Linked DNA regions of Homo sapiens: all the other regions are linked to region 1. The links are contacts of gene promoters, found by promoter capture Hi-C in human tissues and cell types (Jung and others, 2019). All regions are on one chromosome and are shown on one strand. The core of a region is centred on a gene start or on the middle of the fragment in contact, and the rest is flanking DNA. Distances in the headings are between cores, read along the strand shown.

Region 1 (3,754 bases), core at 478-2,977:
GGGTATTGTGCTATTTTCATTTTATGACTACAGAAACAGAGTTCAAACGTTCTTAGTCTAAGACTATTCAGCAACTTCTTTCTAAACTAGGAAGGTATGAATCTGAGATCTCCCATTTTCAGAAAGCTTCCATAATCTTTGCATATATCGCATTCCAGCTTTCATAGAGGGGATGTCTGAGTCATTTGCTCATCCGACAAATCGTCATACTTTTGCCAACAAACATTCTTCCTTGGTTTTCTCTCTTCCTGAAGCGTGTAGCAATGTTCCTAGCTCTCAAGAAAGATCTGGAGCAGCTCGGAAGATAAGAGCAATTGAAGAAGAAAGTTACAATTTAGTGGAGTTAATTTTATCGCAGACTTTCAGCACGCTATTCACATGCAAACTTCACACAGAATATTTTTATCACTACCTTATTGGAATAGATTGGTAATTAATAGCTTGTAATCCACCATTGCTAACATGTTTTGACTTATTAAACACTTGGACAAAATAAAAGAAGATCTGTTTTGCCATAAGGGGGAGCTTTTGAGTTCTATAAAGAGGGGGAAAAAAGAAGAAAAAAATATATTACATGTATGTCCCAGTTCAAAAACAGACCTACAAAGCAGCAAATGGTCAGATCCTTACCTGTGACTTTAACAATTTCAGAGGACCTGAATTGCTTAAGTTGAAAACATTAGGCAAATTAATATTTTTCTCTCATTTTCTTCTTATAAAATTAAAATAATTTCTAATGACCAACAGAGTATTTTAAAGAGTATTCGGGGAAATTCAGAGACCCAGTTGTACTAGGACTACAGCTTCTGAAAGGCAGATGTCCTGGACAGTGCCTTTCTTCTATTTTCTTCTGATGATTCCATAAGAACTTTGGAAACATTTGGGTTAGCTGAAGCCAGCCTTATCTGGGGGCTCAGAAAAGAGGGGAATGGTTCATCATCGTACAACTTTAAGGAAATTCTGAGAGGGAAAAGGACAGGGAAAAGAAGAGGGAAAGAGGTAAAGGGAGAGGAAGCGGGAAGAAGAGTAAGGGAGAGAGTGAGAAAAAGAGAAAGAGAGGGAGAGGGAGGGAGGGAGAGACAGAGAGAGAGAATTAAAAAAAAAAATCTAAGAATCAAGTTTCAAGACTCTTTATGTGCTACAGAAAAGGATGAGGTTTACCAGCAAAGTGCAAAGGGGATCCTAAGAGAAGAGACAGATTTTTCTCCTGCCATCAGAAATAATAATAATAAGTGGGGGGAGTGAGGGAGGGAAAAAAAGCAAGCAAAACAAAACAAAAACAGGAATGTGTGTTTTGAGCAGGAATGAGAGCTGGGAGGACCGTAAGGGGGTGTGTACAGAATTTCATTAAATTGTTACTTTAAGATTGTCTCCTTAAAAAAAAAAAAAAAAAAAGAGAGAGAGAGAGAGAGAGAAAAGGAGGGGGTGGTGGAGAAGCGGGAGCGAAGGAAAGGAGGCAAAAGGCAAAGTGAAGGAAAGCTGGATAGCTCGGCCTCTCCAAACTGATTGATTAGTCATGATCCCCGCAGTTTTAACAGGGACTCATTCAATTGGGAAGGTGGAGCGCTGGGGAGCAGATTAGCATACGCTTGTTTACTCATCTTCTGAGGGATTTTTTCCCCCTCTTTCCTTTCATTTTGAGAAGAAGGAGGGAGGGGAGGGGGGACTTGGGGGGGGAGAAGGGGGCTGTGGCTTGTGTTATAAAGGACGCAAAAAATAAATAAATTAGAGCATCTTTTGGGGGGAGGGAATTCAGCGGATCAGTCTTAAGAGGAGCTTTTTTTTGGAGCGAGAAATCATATAAAATAAAATGAAATAAAACAAGGAGGAAGGCAACCAGCTGTTAGGGGAAAAATAAGGCAGATAAAGGAGCGGGGAGAGAAATTAATTGCCAACCAGGAGGAGTTGGGCTGTATTTTTCAAAGGTGGGGAGAGTGGAGCACACACCTTGAGGAGGAAAGCGAGAAAGAAAAGAAAAAAGCAAGTGGAAAGGGGGGCTCGCCCAAGAAGGGTGAAGAAGCGAAGAAAGTCGAGGCGCCGAGGCTCCCAAAGCTGGCAGCTCCGGGTGGCGGTGCAGGGGCGAAGGGGGGGCGGGGGGAACCGTCGGACATGCGGCTCTGGAGTTGGGTGCTGCACCTGGGGCTGCTGAGCGCCGCGCTGGGCTGCGGGCTGGCCGAGCGTCCCCGCCGGGCCCGGAGAGACCCGCGGGCCGGCCGACCCCCGCGCCCCGCCGCCGGCCCGGCCACCTGCGCCACCCGGGCGGCCCGCGGCCGCCGCGCCTCGCCGCCGCCGCCGCCGCCGCCGGGCGGTGCCTGGGAAGCCGTGCGCGTCCCCCGGCGGCGGCAGCAGCGGGAGGCGAGGGGCGCCACCGAGGAGCCGAGCCCGCCGAGCCGGGCGCTCTATTTCAGCGGGCGAGGCGAGCAGCTGCGCCTCCGGGCCGACCTCGAGCTGCCCCGGGACGCGTTCACGCTGCAAGTGTGGCTGCGAGCGGAGGGGGGCCAGAGGTCTCCGGCAGTGATCACAGGTAGGTGAGGGCGCCTCGGCGGGCGCTGCACCGTCCCTGCGGCCCCAGAGGCTCGCGGGTGTCTGGGCGCGGGTGGCGGGCGGGTCGGGGGCTTGCGGGCGTGTCTGTGCGAGAGCTGCCCCGCGAGCGGCGCAGAGACATCCGGGCGAGCTGAGAGCCTCACTTTGCTCCATCGGTGGAATGGGCACACTCGGAAGGCGTAGCTGCTCCATCCCTGGGAGGAACCTGGGGAGCCCTCCTGGCGGCCCCGCGGACCCTCGGCCAGTGAGGGCTGGTTCCCGGAGCCTAGGGCACGTAACCCGTGCTCCGAATGGTCAGATGCACTCTCTCCTTTTGGGATGAAAGGGAGGATGACCCAATTGAGATGCATGTGAAAGGAGACTTGGGGACCGTTGATTTCTTTGACGTTTTAATGGAGGTAACTCCCCTTCATTAGGCCCCATTCCCCTGAAAGCCGGCAAGGGCAAGGTTGTTGTAATGGCCAGGACTTAGAAGTCCTCGAAGTGCCCCAAAGTTGCTCACTGATTGAAGCCTGCCTCTGGGACTCACCCTCACCCCCTCCACGCCATCCCATGTCCTAGCTTTTAAAGCCCATTGCCTGTCACTCGGGGCTGGGACGAGACCTTCCTAACGCATACCCCGCCAGCGTTCCCCAGACGCGGCTGCGAAACGGGGCGCTTTTCTCATATGGGACTTTATGAGCCCGTAATGAATTTGAGTTCTCCCTCCTCAACCTCCCTCTCTCTCCCCTTCGCTGTTCCACAGCAAAGCCTATAGTGAAATCGGACACTTTGCGAGGATTGCAAACCTTAGAAATGCTCCAGCATCCATTTTCCCCCCTCTAAATGAATCTGTGGAAATGCCTTTAATAAAACTGGGGAGCGGAGGTGGGGGCGGCGCTGGAAGAGAGGAGGAAAGTTTTGCCTTTTCTGTCTGGGAGATTCCCTTTCTGCACAAACAATCTTGCCATGTCCTGGGACGTCTTAAAGTGAGAGTAGGGGTTCCCCCTTCACTGCAGCCAGGAAACGTGTGAAGGCGTTTTGCGATCCCACCCCCTCACACACACACTTTCTTAGAAGGGAAAGCTGTGAGCTCTCCGGGCAGTTCTGCTTCTTCCTGTCTTTCCATGGCTTGGACTTTCACAGATGTAGCACTGACTATCCAGTTGACATGAAGACCCCTTTAGGAGACCCACACTCTGCTGCTATCCCAAGAATACGTCTCCCGAAG
Region 2 (3,875 bases), core at 882-3,381, 160 kb before region 1:
TTTCCTCACAAAATTGTTCCTTTGATTTGAGAATCTGTGATGCTCTCTCAATTACTGTATTTTGAATAACAAATTTTGTTTGGGAAAGGTATATTATCTGGAAATGTTCTCAGCCAATTCTAGGGTTAGATTCTTACAGAAGTCATCTAATAGAAGCAGAATTTCTTTTTAAAGGCAGTTAAATGTAATCAATATTTCATAACAGCCTCATGTCTGGGGAAAGAAAGAGAAGGAAAGAAGGAAAGAAGGAAGGAAGGAAGGGAAAGAAGGAGAGAGAGAGAAAGAAAGAAAAAAGAAAGAAAGAAAGAGAAAGAAAGAAAGGAAGGAAGGAAGGAAGGAAGAAGGAGGGAGGAAGAAGGGAGGAAGGAGAGAGGGGAAGAGAAAAGAAAGAAAGAAAAAAGAAAAAAAGGAAGGAAGGAAGGAATGAAGAGAGAGCCTTTAGATTCTGTGGCCCTTGTTAGAATTCCAAGGAAGACATTATGTAAACGTTCTGAAGCCTTCCTAATTTTGACTAATACAGAGCTATTGGTATAAATCTGTATTGCTCTGAATTACACAAAGTTTATATTTTTACACAAAGTTTAAAAATAAATGTAGATTGTCTTTTAAAAAACATATGTTAATTCAAACAAATTGCCAAGTAGGTGTCTCTAGGGACAAATCTTAGTCAATAAAAAAGAGTGATTTTTTATAAGTTTATCAGCTGATATGTAAAGTGTTTGAGAATAGCTCATTCTCTTACAGTGTTTAAACATTCTTTCAAATGATATCAAAGTTGTTTATTTATTTGATAAGCAAATCCTTTTTTCTCAAAATAATGTAGTGGTAAACTTCATTCATTTATGTGTCCTTACTGAATATTTTATGTTCACTTTTCTAAGATTTAAAATATTAAGAAAATTCATAAAGTTATTTTTATTAAGCTACTTTAGAAGAATAAAAACAGATTTAAGAAAGCTATTGATTCATTTTAAAAATACTTGGTTTCTCATCAATTTTAGAAATTTCTACAGGAAGAACTTTACTGAGGCTAGAGTGGGGGTAGGTAAGAAGAGGGTTGCAAGTTTGGGAAAATCTCTACCAGATGTTTGATTTCTGTTAAACTTTTCACCACCAGTCATCTGGCAGGATTTTCAAAAGACAGATATCAATCTCTTTCTTACAACTTACACCCTATGTTCTAATATTTCTAAATATTAACACACCATCATAACTCAGTTTTTACTGTCAAGAAAATATCAGTGAGATCGTGTTTACCCCTCATGTGCACACCATCACATAGTGCACTCTTTCTTCTACAAAATCCCCATTCTCCTTCGTGACTTTCTCTCCTTCATCCACAAGGATCACATCTCTGCCATACATCCATGGCTATGTTCCTTGAGTTATTTATTCCCAGACTGTAGGGAAACTACTTCTAAAGTAGAATTATAGTTCACACTGTGGTGAGCTATAAAAGAAACAGATTATGAAGTTGAATAGACCTGGTTTTAAATCAAAGTTCTGGCATTTTCTAGCTATATGATCTTGAACAAGCACTTAATCTCTCTGAGCCTCTGTTTTCATAGCACTTTTGAATGAGTTAAGTGAGAAATATAGAGAAAATCCTTATCTCAGTGCCTAATACCTAGTATTAGATATAAGGGGCAAAATAAAGGGTAGGTGATCATAATTTTCATCATCATTATCATCTTTGTTATGGGATAGTGTAATGTACTGAGGCTCCTTGGAACTGAACTCACGTCTTTGACTGCCCAAAGTCATAAAAAATGTGGTAAATTTTCTTTTAGCCATTCAGCAAATATTTACTGACCACACTGTTGCGCAATCTCTGGGAAGAAGCAGTGTACATAACATGGGCATTGCCCCTCCACCCCCACCTTGCATGCAATTAAACAATTAGTCATAGAAACTAGCATACAGTTATAAATGGAAAGTGGTCGACCAAGTGAGAGGGAGATGCCAGGTTATTGTGAGAAAAGATGTGTGTGTGTGTGTGTGTGTGTGTGTGTGTGTGTGTTTAGGTGAAGCATGTATTAGAATTAACCAGGTTTGAGTAAGGAAGTGAACATTCCACATGAAAGGAACAGTAAATGTGAAAGCTCAGAGATATAAAAAGACCATAGAAATGTGTCTTTCTTAAAGACACATGGCTTCCTTGTTCACTTTAGCCACATTATCTTTTAACTTTCAAGAAAATTAAGGAGAGATGGGAGAGGTAGATGAATATCAGAAGACACAAGGTATAATAGGCCACGCACAGAAGGAGCTTGGTCTTTATTCAAGAAGTAATGGGCAAACATTTAAGTGTTTAGGCAAGGCAATAACAAAAATGAACTCATAGATACATTTTTTTCAGAGGGAGGGGACGGGGACTCACTATAGTCCCCAGTCTGGTCTGGAACTCTTGGGCTCAAGAAATCTTTCCATCTCAGCCTCCCGAGTAGCTGGGACTACAGGCGTGGTCCACCATGCCCCAACTCCCCAACTAATATTTTTAAATGCCAACTGACTATTAAAATTGTACTGGAGGTGAGGAAGTAAGTTGATAGGAAAACCATCACAAGATTTCTATAGTAGGTTAGGAGAGAAGTGACAAGTGGCTTGGAGAAAGAAGGTAACAGAAAAAAATGCCCTTTGCCAGTATATCCTTTGACTGTGCTTAGCTACGATGACCAAGTCATAAATATGTGTGCCCTCTTGCTGCCAGTCTATCTGCGGGGCAGGGGAATCACCACAGAATATTGGAGTTGACATGAAAGAGGTAGTGATCTGTGCTTCACAATTAATTACATCATAATTAATTACAACGTTCAACCTTATGCATTCATTCTTTTTTTTTAACTTATCACACATTTATAATTATGAGGATCTATGAGAATCCCTAGGTAATGGTTCATGTTAAGTGAGTGACTGACTTTTCATAACTTCAGCATTCTCTCATTTATCCTTTTTTAAACTAGAAGGGCATGTTTAGCAGACACACAAAGGAGACAGGCCCACTTGCCACTCTGCCTGTTCTGATGGGCTGGGAACAAGTAGGCTCCAAGACTCAGAAATGACTGTGGTTTCTGCTCTACTCTCTGGATAATCTAACTACCCAGGGGATAGAAGATTTGTGCCTACCAGATTAAAAAAAAAAATCCTTATTTTTGGTTCTACTGCTACCAGCTTCTTTGACTAATTTTGAAATTATGTCTCCTTTCTTTCAGCCACATTGTTACAAATTTATTATCTAGGCTGATGATATCATCTGGAGAGGGTCCAGGACTGTGGTCATTCAGCTCCTTTTTCCACATTACATAGGCAGCTTCTTCTCTCCCCTTTCAGGTCATTAATTTTTTAAAAGAGGGCTTGCTTTAAATATCTAGAGGAGTGCTTTCAGCTGTGACACAGAGAAGGTTTCCCCTTTCATAGCCTGCAACACGTGCCTGCTTCTGATTGAAGGCTGCTTGCCCAAGTGGGCATTTGAGATCCCTCAAAGTGTCTCATGAGAAGTCTTTGGTCAAAGTCATGCTAAAGGCACTTGTTAACTTTGTTTTCAAACTGGAAACAAACTGGAGAAGGAGTAGGAGACCTGACCTGGAATTGTATGTAATGGGCTATAGGCCAGGAGATTGGAACAGCTTCTCCACAGATTTATTGTGGGGTGTTAGTAATTCCTTTATGGCTCAGCATCCTTCTGTGTAAAATGAGAATGGCTTCATCCCTCATCTCTAATTTTCAGGAGTGCAGGAAGCATTGGAAGAGGTACCAAGTTTTCTAAAAGCACTTTGAAGCTCATACATTCTACAAGTATGTATTGAGCACCGAATATATGTCAAATACTGTGCTTAGCACCAGGTATACAGTGGTGAATAAAACAGGCCTATATG
Region 3 (3,850 bases), core at 593-3,092, 150 kb after region 1:
ATGCCTGAGTTGGAGACCCAGATCAGGTATTAACACACTGTGTGATCTTGGGCAAGTTATTAAAGATGTATGGAATCTCAGTTTCCTCATCTGGAAGAATAATATCTTCCACATGAAGTTTTTATGAGGAATATTTCGAATAATGAAGGTGAAAGTGTTTGTGAACTTTTTATTACAGTATAGACACACAACACAAGGTCTACCTTCTTTATATATTTTAAATGTAAAGTACAATATTGTTAACTATAAGCACACTATTTTACAGCAGATTCCTATAACTTTTTCATGTTGCACAATTGAAACCACATACTCACTGAAAAGCAACTCTCCATTTCCTCCTCCCCCGAGATCCTGGAAACCACCATTTTACTTTCTACTTCTATGAGCTTCCCTACTTTACATGCCATCTATAAGTCGAATCATGCAGTATTTGTCTTTCTGTGACTGGATTATTTCCCTTAACATGGTGGCCTCCACGTTTCCTATAACATGGTTATCTCCTTGAACATGGTTCATCCATGTTGTTGCAGATGACAGAATTTCCTTCTTTTTTTTTCAAGACTGAGTAATAGTCCATCGTGACTAATGTGATGGGCTTGACAGTACCAATGGTTTTGGTGGTCTGACTCTGCAGCTGCTGATGATTGCTGAGGCCAAAGAACAAATATTTATTTATTCTCTCCCTTTCTATGTCAATCTTTTGCAGATGAACCCAGCCGGTGCTATTTCCATGATGGTGATGGGGTATGTGAGGAGTTTGAACAAAAAACCAGCATTAAGGACTGTGGTGTCTACACGCCCCAGGGATTCCTGGATCAGTGGGCATCCAATGCTTCAGTATCTCATCAAGACCAGCAATGCCCAGGCTGGGTCATCATCGGACAGCCAGCAGCATCCCAGGTAAGATCCTAACCATGTGTGGCATTTCCTGCAGACATTCAAAGTCTCCGCTATGCCCCACAAGGCTACTCACCTCTAAGGCAGTGTCATTGGCTATAGCCACTTGAGCATATCTTTATTAAATGTACTGTTAGGGCTTCATGAATACCATTTGTAAAAGATTAGATCTGGAATTGTTAGGGCAGGGAACATTGTATGATAGGGTAATGACTGTCCTCCTATTTCCTTGCCTGTAATAACTAATATTTGGAGAAAGAACTCCATTTTGCATATATCATGTATTTCAATGAGGTAAGAATGAATTTATATTGGAAGTCCCACTTTTTAGGGGGCGCCAAGCTGTGTACTACTTGAATTAACAGTAATTATACAGTAATTTGCTATGTGGCCTTAGACTAGTTCTCCCACCTCTCTGGGCCCTATTTTTCGACTCATCCTTAAAATAAAGAGTAGTTGAGCTTGTTGATCTCCAAGGGCCTTCCCAATTCTAAGAAGCTGTGACTCATGCCTCAGTCCCCTAATGCACTATTTATGTGCCACAGTTCTTCCCCAAGGGACTGACAGCTTAGTCCAGGGAGTGAGAGTTTTGGGGCCACTAGTGCTTGTATGATTCTAGAGATGGTCATGCTGTCCCGAGAGCCCCCTTTCCAATTATCCTACCAAGGAAGCACCTGCCTTCCCCGAGACTCAAATTTCCCAGAGACACGACTCAGTGCTTCTGGCTGCCTGGCCTAGTGGCCTTTCAGAGACCAGCCTGCCTCCTGGCCTTGCAGATGAGCTGCTATTCCCAGGCATTCCTTTCCAATATTGCTTTCTTGATTTAGGTTTAGTCGGGTAGCCCTGGCTTCTAGATGAAAGAAAGATATGACCTTCCTCTGGGGTCAAGTGAAGAATCACTGGGTGAGGTACAGAATAGGACTACCTCATTTTTAGTTGTTGCCTGTATTTGATTATTTCTTCATTCACTTTTTGTTTATGTTTACATCACTAAAGCCTTTATTCATTTGCATTTATTTTTGAATGCCCTCAGGAGAGTGGAAACAAATGGTAACATGGCATTTCCTGATGCTTAACAATGTATAGTGCCAGCCTGCTGAATGAATGAATGAATGAATGAGTGCACAGATAGATGAATGGCTAGGGTTCATCCTCCCCCTGTGCCACGTCTGTACTTGGTGGAATCATCTGTGTGGTTGCATTTATCATACTGAACTCTGAAGTATCTATTTGTCTGTCTGGCTCCCCCATTAGGCTGCTGGTTCTTTGAGAACAAGTTTCAGTTTATTCATCTTTGTCCTCTCATGTTCAAGCAAAGGCTAGATAGGTGCCCAGCAAATGTGTGTTTAATTGACTGTAGATACACACACATACACATACATACATCCCATTGCCACATGCAAATGAACGACACTGACAGAAAACACTCACGCATTGCCTCTCTATCACATAGAATGTCCTGCTTCAGAAACAACAGTGCTGGGGCCAGCAAGAGAACAAGGAATCCAAATTCAACACTAGCATCCAGTTCTTAGAAATGTTTTAAAAACAACCTTCAAACAAGAGAATTATTAACACACTCAGAACCTCCCATGAGGAAGAGTTGAGGTAGCAGCTGTGCTTAAAAATCACCCAAATGTTATTGCGACTAATGTGAGAAAAGGAGAGAAAGAATTTTCCAGTCTTAGCATTTGAAAAGAAGCTTCATGGGGCAATTATTCCAATCTTGTAAGGGGGGGCTGTCAGGAATTACTGGTGATTATCTCTTCCTAAACAAAAATCCAATTTAAAAAATCATTATAAATACTAGCTCTTCGATCTACAAAGAGGAGATGAGGAAACAAAATCATCCTATTGAATTATTCATTGTAACCAATTTTATTTTAATGAAATCGACTAGGTTCCATTACTCTGGGCTTGGACATAATCTTTGTTACAAGGAGATTTCAGCTGTAACTAAATTTGCCATAATGAGATCAGCTCACTGGAGAATACAGGGTCGGGGAGGGAATATGTGTGCAGGCTGGGTGCAGGGCCAGGAAGAGGGCAGCAGAACAAAAGTCTCCTGAATTCCTCATCTGAAAGCAAGTACCTAGAAGTCATTCACAAACACACACACACACACACCCTACCACCACCACACACAGAGGCACAGGCACACGCATACACAAGTACGTGGGCACACAGACACACACACACACACACACACACACACACACACACACACACGGAGTCTGCATAATTAGAGGTAAAGGCTATTCCTGAAGTGTAAACGTACCTTCCTTCCAACAACAGAGAATGAGGAGGAAGTATAATTGTGCTCTTCATTACCTTGTACAGTGATTAGAAGAGATTGGTAGTTAATTTTCACCCTGTCAGGGCTTCCAGTGAAGATGTTGATAGCTTGAGAGGAGGAGCTGGGAGGCTCTTAGAAGTTGGGCTTAGGAAGAAGATGGGAATTGTATCATGTGCTTCTCACTTTCCCCCCAGATGCTCATACTCTCCCTCTTCTCTCTCTCTCTCTCACACACACACACACACACATACATACACAAATTTACACACCAAAAGGCCCTGTAGGAGCATGGGAGTACCAAAGCAGATAGAAGAGAATAGCAGGAAAGAAATAGTAGTTATCAAGGTCCACCAGGCACTGGACACATGTATGCACATTACAGCCAATCCCCTTGTCATTCTTCAAGGTAGGAATTGTTGTCTACCTTGGAGAAACTGAGGAACACAGTGGCTTCACTATAAGTTACATGGTCCATAAGGGAAGAATCTAGGATTAGAAGAATCTCATGGAAGATGAATGACAGTGGGTCCTTGGGAACATGAGGTCACATTCAAAAGTTGGAAGTGGCTGGATTCCTGGAAAACTTCACTACAAAACAGGCAGAAAGACTCCTAGATGGATAGATCTCAGCATTGAGTGTCACTCTGCAGACCTCAT
Region 4 (3,538 bases), core at 296-2,795, 130 kb before region 1:
TTCTGTACTCTGATCTCTGTCTTAAAGTCTCCTTCTTAGCAAACCAACCTGTGCTTTCTTCTTTCATATCTTTTCTCCTTTCAGCTACAATCTGATTTTTCTTGTGTTTACAGCAAAACTGAAAAGATTTTTTTATATTCATCATTTTCACATCCTTACCTTCCATTTTCTCTTGAACACACAACAATTAGACTTAGTTGCTGCTGCTCCATAGAAACTGTTCTTGTCAAGGTCACCACAAATTCATCCTGTCAAGTCCCATCATCCTCATGTTGGATTACCTCTCAGCAACATCTGCCATAGTTAAATAATCTTCTTCCCAAGAATGTACTTGGTTCCTGGGATATCACACTCACTTGGTTTTCCTTTCCTCACTTGCTGTTTCTTCTCAGTATCTTTTGCTGGGTCACCTTCATCTTTCCAATCTTTAAATGTCTGTGAACTCCAGAACTTCATCCTTGACTTTCTTATTCATCTTCAATTACTCCCTAGGTCAAAAATCAGCAAACTTTTCCCATAAAAGACCAGATAGTAAATATTTTAAACTTTAGGGCAATGTGGTTTCTGCTGCACCTACTTAACTCTGCCATTGTAGTGCAAAAGTTTCCATATAGAATATACAAAAACAAACATTTTCATGTTCCAATAAAAACAACCAATGGCCATATTTGGACTGATGGTTATAGTTTGTAGATCTCTGTTCTATGTAATCTCATCTGGTTCCACAACTTTAAATGTTATTACTGACTACCGTAAATTCCAGACTGAGATAGTTAAGCTGCTACTTGGCATCGCTCAAAAGTAGTATGTACTAAAAGGAAACTTTGGACTTTTGTTGATCTATTCCTCAACCTGTTTCTCTCCCAGTCTTTCTTACTGGCAATGCAAGACACATCACCATTTGCGCCTTATTGATACCACCTCATTACCTTTATCCTTCATTGCCAGCCAGGTTCAAGACATGAAATTCATTCATCTGGATTAGTTCAGTAGTATTGAGCAGGTCTTTCTGCTTTCCCTCTAAGCTCCCAAGAGCCTAGTCTTTGTAGAATGGCAAAAATAAATTTCTTGAACATTTCTTTTAAAAAAGAAAATTAGATTTTAACATTTCCTTCTCATTTTGAACAAATTTCAAGCTTCTTCCCAAGACCCAGAAGGTCCCAAATGATCTGGTCTTTCCTCACGTTTGTGGTTTTGTGGTCTGTTCTTCATGCTCATTCCCTCCCAGCCACACTTGTCTTTTTGCTGTTTTGAGTGTTCAGTTTATACTTGCCATGAGGCCTTTGCTGACCCCTCTATTTGGAAATATTTTCCCCCAATTTCTAACTTGCCTCATATCCTTAACTAATTTGGGTTTTTGTTTAAATATCATCTCTTCAGAGAAAGATGTTTTGATTCCCTATCTTAATAGATTCCTCCCATCATTACCCAGTTCCTTTTTACCTTGCTTTATCTTTTAAAAACGATACTTAATGAGTACCAAAAATTATTTTGTACATTTATTTCTTTATTTGTTATTTCCCTCTACTACAATAAAAATTTGAGAGGGCAGAGACCATGTGTCATTTGTTTCTTGCTCTATTTATGATGCATATAAAAGTATGTGGAATGTATCAGGAAAACAATAAAAATTTGTTATTGTTTTTCATTTAAGCATGATGTATTTAGAACATACATTTTTCTTAGAATCTTCTGAAATGCCATGATCATGCCTGTAAAGGAATAAACATGGTATAAACCCAGAAGTACCCAGTGGAAAAAAATAGAAGGTGTAAGTAAACAGATGAGGTATGTCAACAAAATTCAGGAAGATGGGAAGCAGATGGATTAATGAAAACCACATCATCAGTGGTGAGGAAGCAGAAACCCAAATGACTGAAGGAGCATGAAGAAGATCAAAAGAAACAAGATGATTCATGCCACAAAACTTTGCAAAGGCTCAGGAAAGTCACCTGGTATCTTACAAGGTAGGAATGAGGAGACAGTTGAAGAGAGGAGGATTCATTGAAAGTTAATTTTTAAAAAGTTTTATAATTCCAGATTATCTTCTCCTGGCCAGAATGCCAGGTGCTGCTCTTCCCCAAACCAGGCCGAAAGAACGTGGGAATTTTATTCTTTGGAGAAGTGAAACTAAAGATGCTCTTGATGTGGATACCCAGGACAAAGCTGAGGTTGAGATAAGACATGTATTAAAAATAGGAAACTTAAGCAAAAATCTACAACCTGAATGGCAAGATTGCTAAGCTCCCTTTTCTACAACTTGACTTCCTTCAAGATGGAAGCTGGTTTATATGCCCAAAGTCAAGGAGAGTGAAAGGTTTCTCTCTAAGAAATTTGACCAGACTAAAACTACAGATATTCACATTTGAGGGAATCTCCAATAATATGGTCAAGTCCCTGTTTTAACATCATTCAATGAGGCCCACCAATCAGAAAGTCCCACTCACACAACCTGAAATTCAAATTAATTTTTCGCTACCTTAAATCTTGTTGATGAATGAATACTCAAGGACTGGCAGATATTTGAGTAAATCCTCTAACATGAAAGGCAGAAACCAGAGCAAACTAAAAATGGAAGCTCAAAAAACAGAATTTCTGTAAAGACCAGAAGAAAAACTAAAAAGAAAAAAGAGAAAGCTAAACAAATATAGTGTTCTTATAGAAATAAGATAATATCCAGCATTCAAATAAAAACAAACAAAAGGTAGGATCTTATGAAAGAAGAGCATTCAGAAAATAAGAACAAGCTTTTGAAAATTAAATATATAATAGCAGAATCAAAATTTAAATAGATAGGATAGAAGAAAGATGTGTTAGTTAATTTTATATGCTAATTTAACTGGACCACAGGATACCCAGATATTTGGTCAGACATTATACTGGATGTTTCTGACAGGGTGTTTTTGAATGAGACTAAAGCAGGATGCCCTCCATAATGGGAGTTGGTCTCAACTAATCTATTGAAGGCCTGATTAGAATAGAAAATGCTGAGCCTCCCCTGAGTAAAAAAAAAAAATTCTTCAAGAGACTGCCTTTAAACTTCATCTGCATCATCAGCTCTCCCTGGAACTCTGGCTGCCACCTTTGGAATGAAACTGGATCATAAACCCTTTTAAGTCTCAAGCATGCTGATCCACATTTTAGATTTGGAATATAGAGAAACAGATGGATAGATAGATAGATAGATAGATAGATAGATAGATAGATAGACAGATACCCTCTCATCCTATTGATTCTCTTTCTCTGAAAATTCCTAATTAAATAAATTTGAAGATACAAAAGTACAAAAATATAAAAATATGAAAAATAGGAGAAAATACATAAAATCAAACTTTTTACACCATAATCTGTTTAATTGTAGTTCCAGAAATAGAAGACAGGTGAAAAGGAAGAAAGAAAAATGTCAGGGAAAAGTGACAAATCCCTAATCTAAACAATTTTCATGTTGAAAGTGCCCCCTAGGTCTACTACAAATAGATCAGAGGCAGGAAATTATGGAGCACAGATAAAATTCAGCCTGCCGTTTATACTTCTAAAT
Region 5 (3,441 bases), core at 252-2,751, 130 kb after region 1:
TTTTCTGACCATCCCTCCACAGACCTTCTTTCACCTACTCTTTAAGTATCAGCAGTCTCCAATGTTCCATAATAGGCACACTTCTCATTCTCCATTCTCTCCTTGTATGACTCCAAAATCTCTATCTTTAGTCTGGGCCTTTTTTTTTTTTTTTTTTTTTTTGACCCATGAACTTGTATATCTAATTGCTCTACTTTGACGCCCCAAGGGAACTCACATTCGACACATCTTACACAAAGCTTGCCATCTTTCTTTCCAGACCTGCTGCAAGTGTTTTTCCTAATCTCAACTGGTGGCGCCAGTAGCCAACCAGACATTTAAACAGAAGCTTGGGAAACATCCATAACTCTTCCCTCTCTGCCATTTCCCACATCCAAATAATTGCCATTCTTCCCATTTTACTTTGAAAACGTTATCTTGTCTGCGTCCAAATCAGTCTCTCTCGCCCCATGATCATTACTCTACCTGAGGCCCTCTTCAGCTCCTGATTAGGCTTTTATAAGAGAAAGCTTGTAAAATGAACATGTTGCTTGTTCATTTTTTTGCTTGCCCCAATCTACCTGCCCATAGGTGAGAGCAAGTTTCCTAAAGTGCAGACACCTTTTGTTGCTCTCCAATTGAGAGTGTCAGATGGCTCCATGTTGCCCTTGAGATAAATTTAAATTCCTTACTGTGTCATTTAAGACCTTGCGTGATCTGAGCCCAGGATTTGCTTTTCTTTTCTTTTTCTTTTTTCTTTCTTTTTCTTTTTCTTTTCTTTCTTTCTTTTTTTTTTTTTTTTTTTGACAGATTCTCACTTTGTTGCCAGGCCAGAGTGCAGTGGCACTGTCTGGGCTCACTGCAACCTCCACCTCCTGGGTTCAAGTGATTCTCCTGCCTCAGCCTCCCAAGTAGCTGGGACTACAGGCACATACCACCACACCCAGCTAATTTTTGTATTTTTGTAGACATGGGGTCTCACCATGTTGGCTAGGATGGTCTCGATCTCTTGACCTTGTGTCCTGCCCACCTCGGCCAGGATTTGCATTTTATACTCCAATACCATCTTGTGCTTTATACCTCCTACTATATTGCTGGCCTCATCTCATTTGCTCACAGTGTCCCCCTGCTGGAATGTGCTCCTCACCACCCGTTCCTCCTCTGAGAGATACAGCCCAGGTGTTGCCTCCTAAGGGAAACCTTCTTAAATCTGGGTTAGATTGGATTGGGGGTCCCTCCTCTGTGCTCCCACAGTATCTTGTACCTCATGAGGGTCAGAATCCTGTGCCGTCATCATTTACATATCTCCCCTCTCACTAGGACCTGAGTTCTTGGAGCACTGAGACCTGCTTTAATTCATCTGATTTCCCAAGAGTTAGTCCAGGGACTGACAAATAATTTGCAGTTCAGTAAATATAGAATAAATGAGTAAAAGAAGGATGTATTTCTTAAGAGACAGTTTTATTTTTCAGGCAAGAAAGTGTAGTTGAGCTTTGCTGGTCTTTAGAGTCAGACAATCCTGTTTGAATAGGAGACTTTCCCCCTTAGCTGTCATCTCGGGCAGGTTATCTTGGGTCAGGTGGCTTGGGGTGGTGGTTTCATGCTCAGACCCCTGAACTGGGCTGCTTGTATCCAAATCCTAGTTCCCCCACAAAAGGGGTGGGGGCTTCTTTAAAATGTTAATGTTACTATATCGATACACCAAGAGGTAGAAAGTATGCTATCTTAGCCAGCAGTACTTTTTTGAGGCTTCTTTCACTAAGTAGAGACGGGCTCAAATGCTGCCTTTCCTTCTCTATCTCTATACTGACAGAGGTCATTACTCTTTGGTAAGGTCCAAAGGCTTTAGAATTTTAGAAGAATGGGTGGGTGGAACCAGTGATTTTGGTGGTATTTGGATCACCCCATAAGACTCTCGGATGGCCCCAAATTGAGCTGCTTTTTAATACCAAATCTCAGTCTGCGGCTTGCTTCCATTTGGGGAGAGAGCCTAATTAACTCGTAGCTGGAAAGAACTGCAGGTCTGCCACCCCCCAGGCAGAGAATTCAAAAGGAAGTGGATAGCTGTGTAAATAACACTGCTTTAAGGGGCATTTAAGCCAATGCTCTTTGTTAAGGAAATTGATGGCTTTGTAAGTACTGCGTCTGAAGGGAGTACTTGAGCTGAAGGTCCCCATCTCGCCTCGTAAATTTCCTAATGGACTGTGGGCCTGCAGGCTGGGCCCAGCGTGTTCAATCACTTGCCAACAAAAACTCGGATTTCACTCTAAAAAAATTAAAAACGTTTAACCAAAACATAAGTTATTGAGCCTGTGCAGTTTAACTGTGGCACAAGGTAGCAGAGACAGATTACTTCCTTTAAGGAAAGGGAAACTCCTCATCTTTTACTTTAAAAAATTTGTTTTTTAAATGCTGGATGTGGTGCTACGTGCTTTCTCAACAGCTTCTCATTTTTTTGTCCTCATAACAGTTGGGAAGGTAGTCATTATTTTGCCAATTTGCCAAAGAGGAAACGGACTCAGGGCTAAAGTGTGCTGGTCATTGACACCAGCTAATTAGTGAAGAGCCAGGTTGTGATCACAGCTCCATCAGGCCCCTGAGCCCCCAAGTAGTGCCAAATCATAGGGCATCCGAGAGAGAATCAGATCAGCCCATCTCATCAGATTCTCCTGAATATCCACATCCATTCAAAATAGATTAACTGGACAGCATGGGAATGACTTACCCTCTTGAAACCTCAATTTCATTGTCTGTAAAATGGGGATAATAATAGGACCAAACACGGGGCTCTTCTAGATTTGAATGCCTTATGTACTTGAAACATTTAGCACAATGCCCAGCATGGAGAAAGTCATCCAGTTATTCATTTCACAAATACGCTAAGTACAATTTTAACTGGGGAAGCGGATGATGGTATAGGAAGACCTAGTGAGGGTCCATTAGCCCTTCTGGGGGTGGGTTTCCAGGCAGGTTTTTGAGAGGTTAAACTGTGAATAAAGGACAAATGGGGACTAGTCACAGAAAAGGCAGCTCTGGGGATTTGAAGAAAGCTTCTGCAAACGTGGGGAGGTGAGAGGGAACATGGTCCACTCAGGGCAACGACAATTTGTGTCTGGAGCTTAGACTAGAGTGCGTTCGAGAAGAGAGAAGCCTGCAGAGGCAGGCAAGGACCAGAGTACACCTTGTCAATCATCATCAAGCTCCTGTTGGGAAAAGTTGAATGAATAACTCAGTATCTTCTAGGGCAACCACTTTCAATTTTAGACCAACTGTACTTTGTTAGAAGAGTTTTCCATTGTGTCCTCCCTGAGCCTTCTTTTCTTCAGGTTAAGCATCTTCATACCTACATGATTATTGCTCAGTGGTTGGTGCCTATCCAGGGTCCTATTCTTTGACCATATCCTACCACATCAGTGGCCCAGAATTGGCCTCTTCAGCCATGACTGGTCCAGCTAGGACTGG

Evidence for each region. Contacts are between HindIII fragments. The study calls those that stand out against the background at their distance.
Region 2: a fragment that was not itself captured here is called in contact with the fragment with the promoter of PAPPA in region 1 in 1 of the 25 tissues and cell types used here (IMR-90 fibroblasts).
Region 3: a contact is called between a fragment that was not itself captured here and the fragment with the promoter of PAPPA in region 1, in 1 of the 25 tissues and cell types used here (bladder).
Region 4: a contact is called between a fragment that was not itself captured here and the fragment with the promoter of PAPPA in region 1, in 2 of the 25 tissues and cell types used here (IMR-90 fibroblasts and lymphoblastoid cells).
Region 5: a fragment that was not itself captured here is called in contact with the fragment with the promoter of PAPPA in region 1 in 5 of the 25 tissues and cell types used here (H1 embryonic stem cells, mesenchymal stem cells, mesendoderm cells and 2 more).

Annotation. Positions count from the first base shown.
Region 1 is chr9:116,152,064-116,155,817 of GRCh38, forward strand. It overlaps PAPPA (pappalysin 1), which reads left to right and starts at 1,728. Exons shown (of 22, transcript NM_002581.5): 1 at 1,728-2,524. The coding sequence starts at 2,110. RefSeq lists a silencer at 3,505-3,594. The HindIII fragment of the contact is 11,414 bases long and covers 1-3,754 here.
Region 2 is chr9:115,994,800-115,998,674 of GRCh38, forward strand. All of the region lies in intron 1 of LOC105376236 (a long non-coding RNA gene), which reads left to right. Among named protein-coding and RNA genes, the nearest start is that of LINC00474, 72 kb to the left of the region's middle. The HindIII fragment of the contact is 8,116 bases long and covers 1-3,875 here.
Region 3 is chr9:116,302,051-116,305,900 of GRCh38, forward strand. PAPPA (pappalysin 1) reads left to right here. Exons shown (of 22, transcript NM_002581.5): 10 at 707-900. All of the region lies in intron 4 of PAPPA-AS2 (PAPPA antisense RNA 2), which reads right to left. Among named protein-coding and RNA genes, the nearest start is that of PAPPA-AS2, 60 kb to the right of the region's middle. The HindIII fragment of the contact is 5,013 bases long and covers 1-3,850 here.
Region 4 is chr9:116,019,130-116,022,667 of GRCh38, forward strand. No RefSeq gene overlaps it. Among named protein-coding and RNA genes, the nearest start is that of LINC00474, 96 kb to the left of the region's middle. The HindIII fragment of the contact is 3,305 bases long and covers 1-3,198 here.
Region 5 is chr9:116,284,407-116,287,847 of GRCh38, forward strand. All of the region lies in intron 9 of PAPPA (pappalysin 1), which reads left to right. It overlaps PAPPA-AS2 (PAPPA antisense RNA 2), which reads right to left. Exons shown (of 6, transcript NR_170222.1): 6 at 1,422-3,182. Among named protein-coding and RNA genes, the nearest start is that of PAPPA-AS2, 78 kb to the right of the region's middle. RefSeq lists enhancers at 1,567-2,143, 2,144-2,718. The HindIII fragment of the contact is 4,653 bases long and covers 1-3,441 here.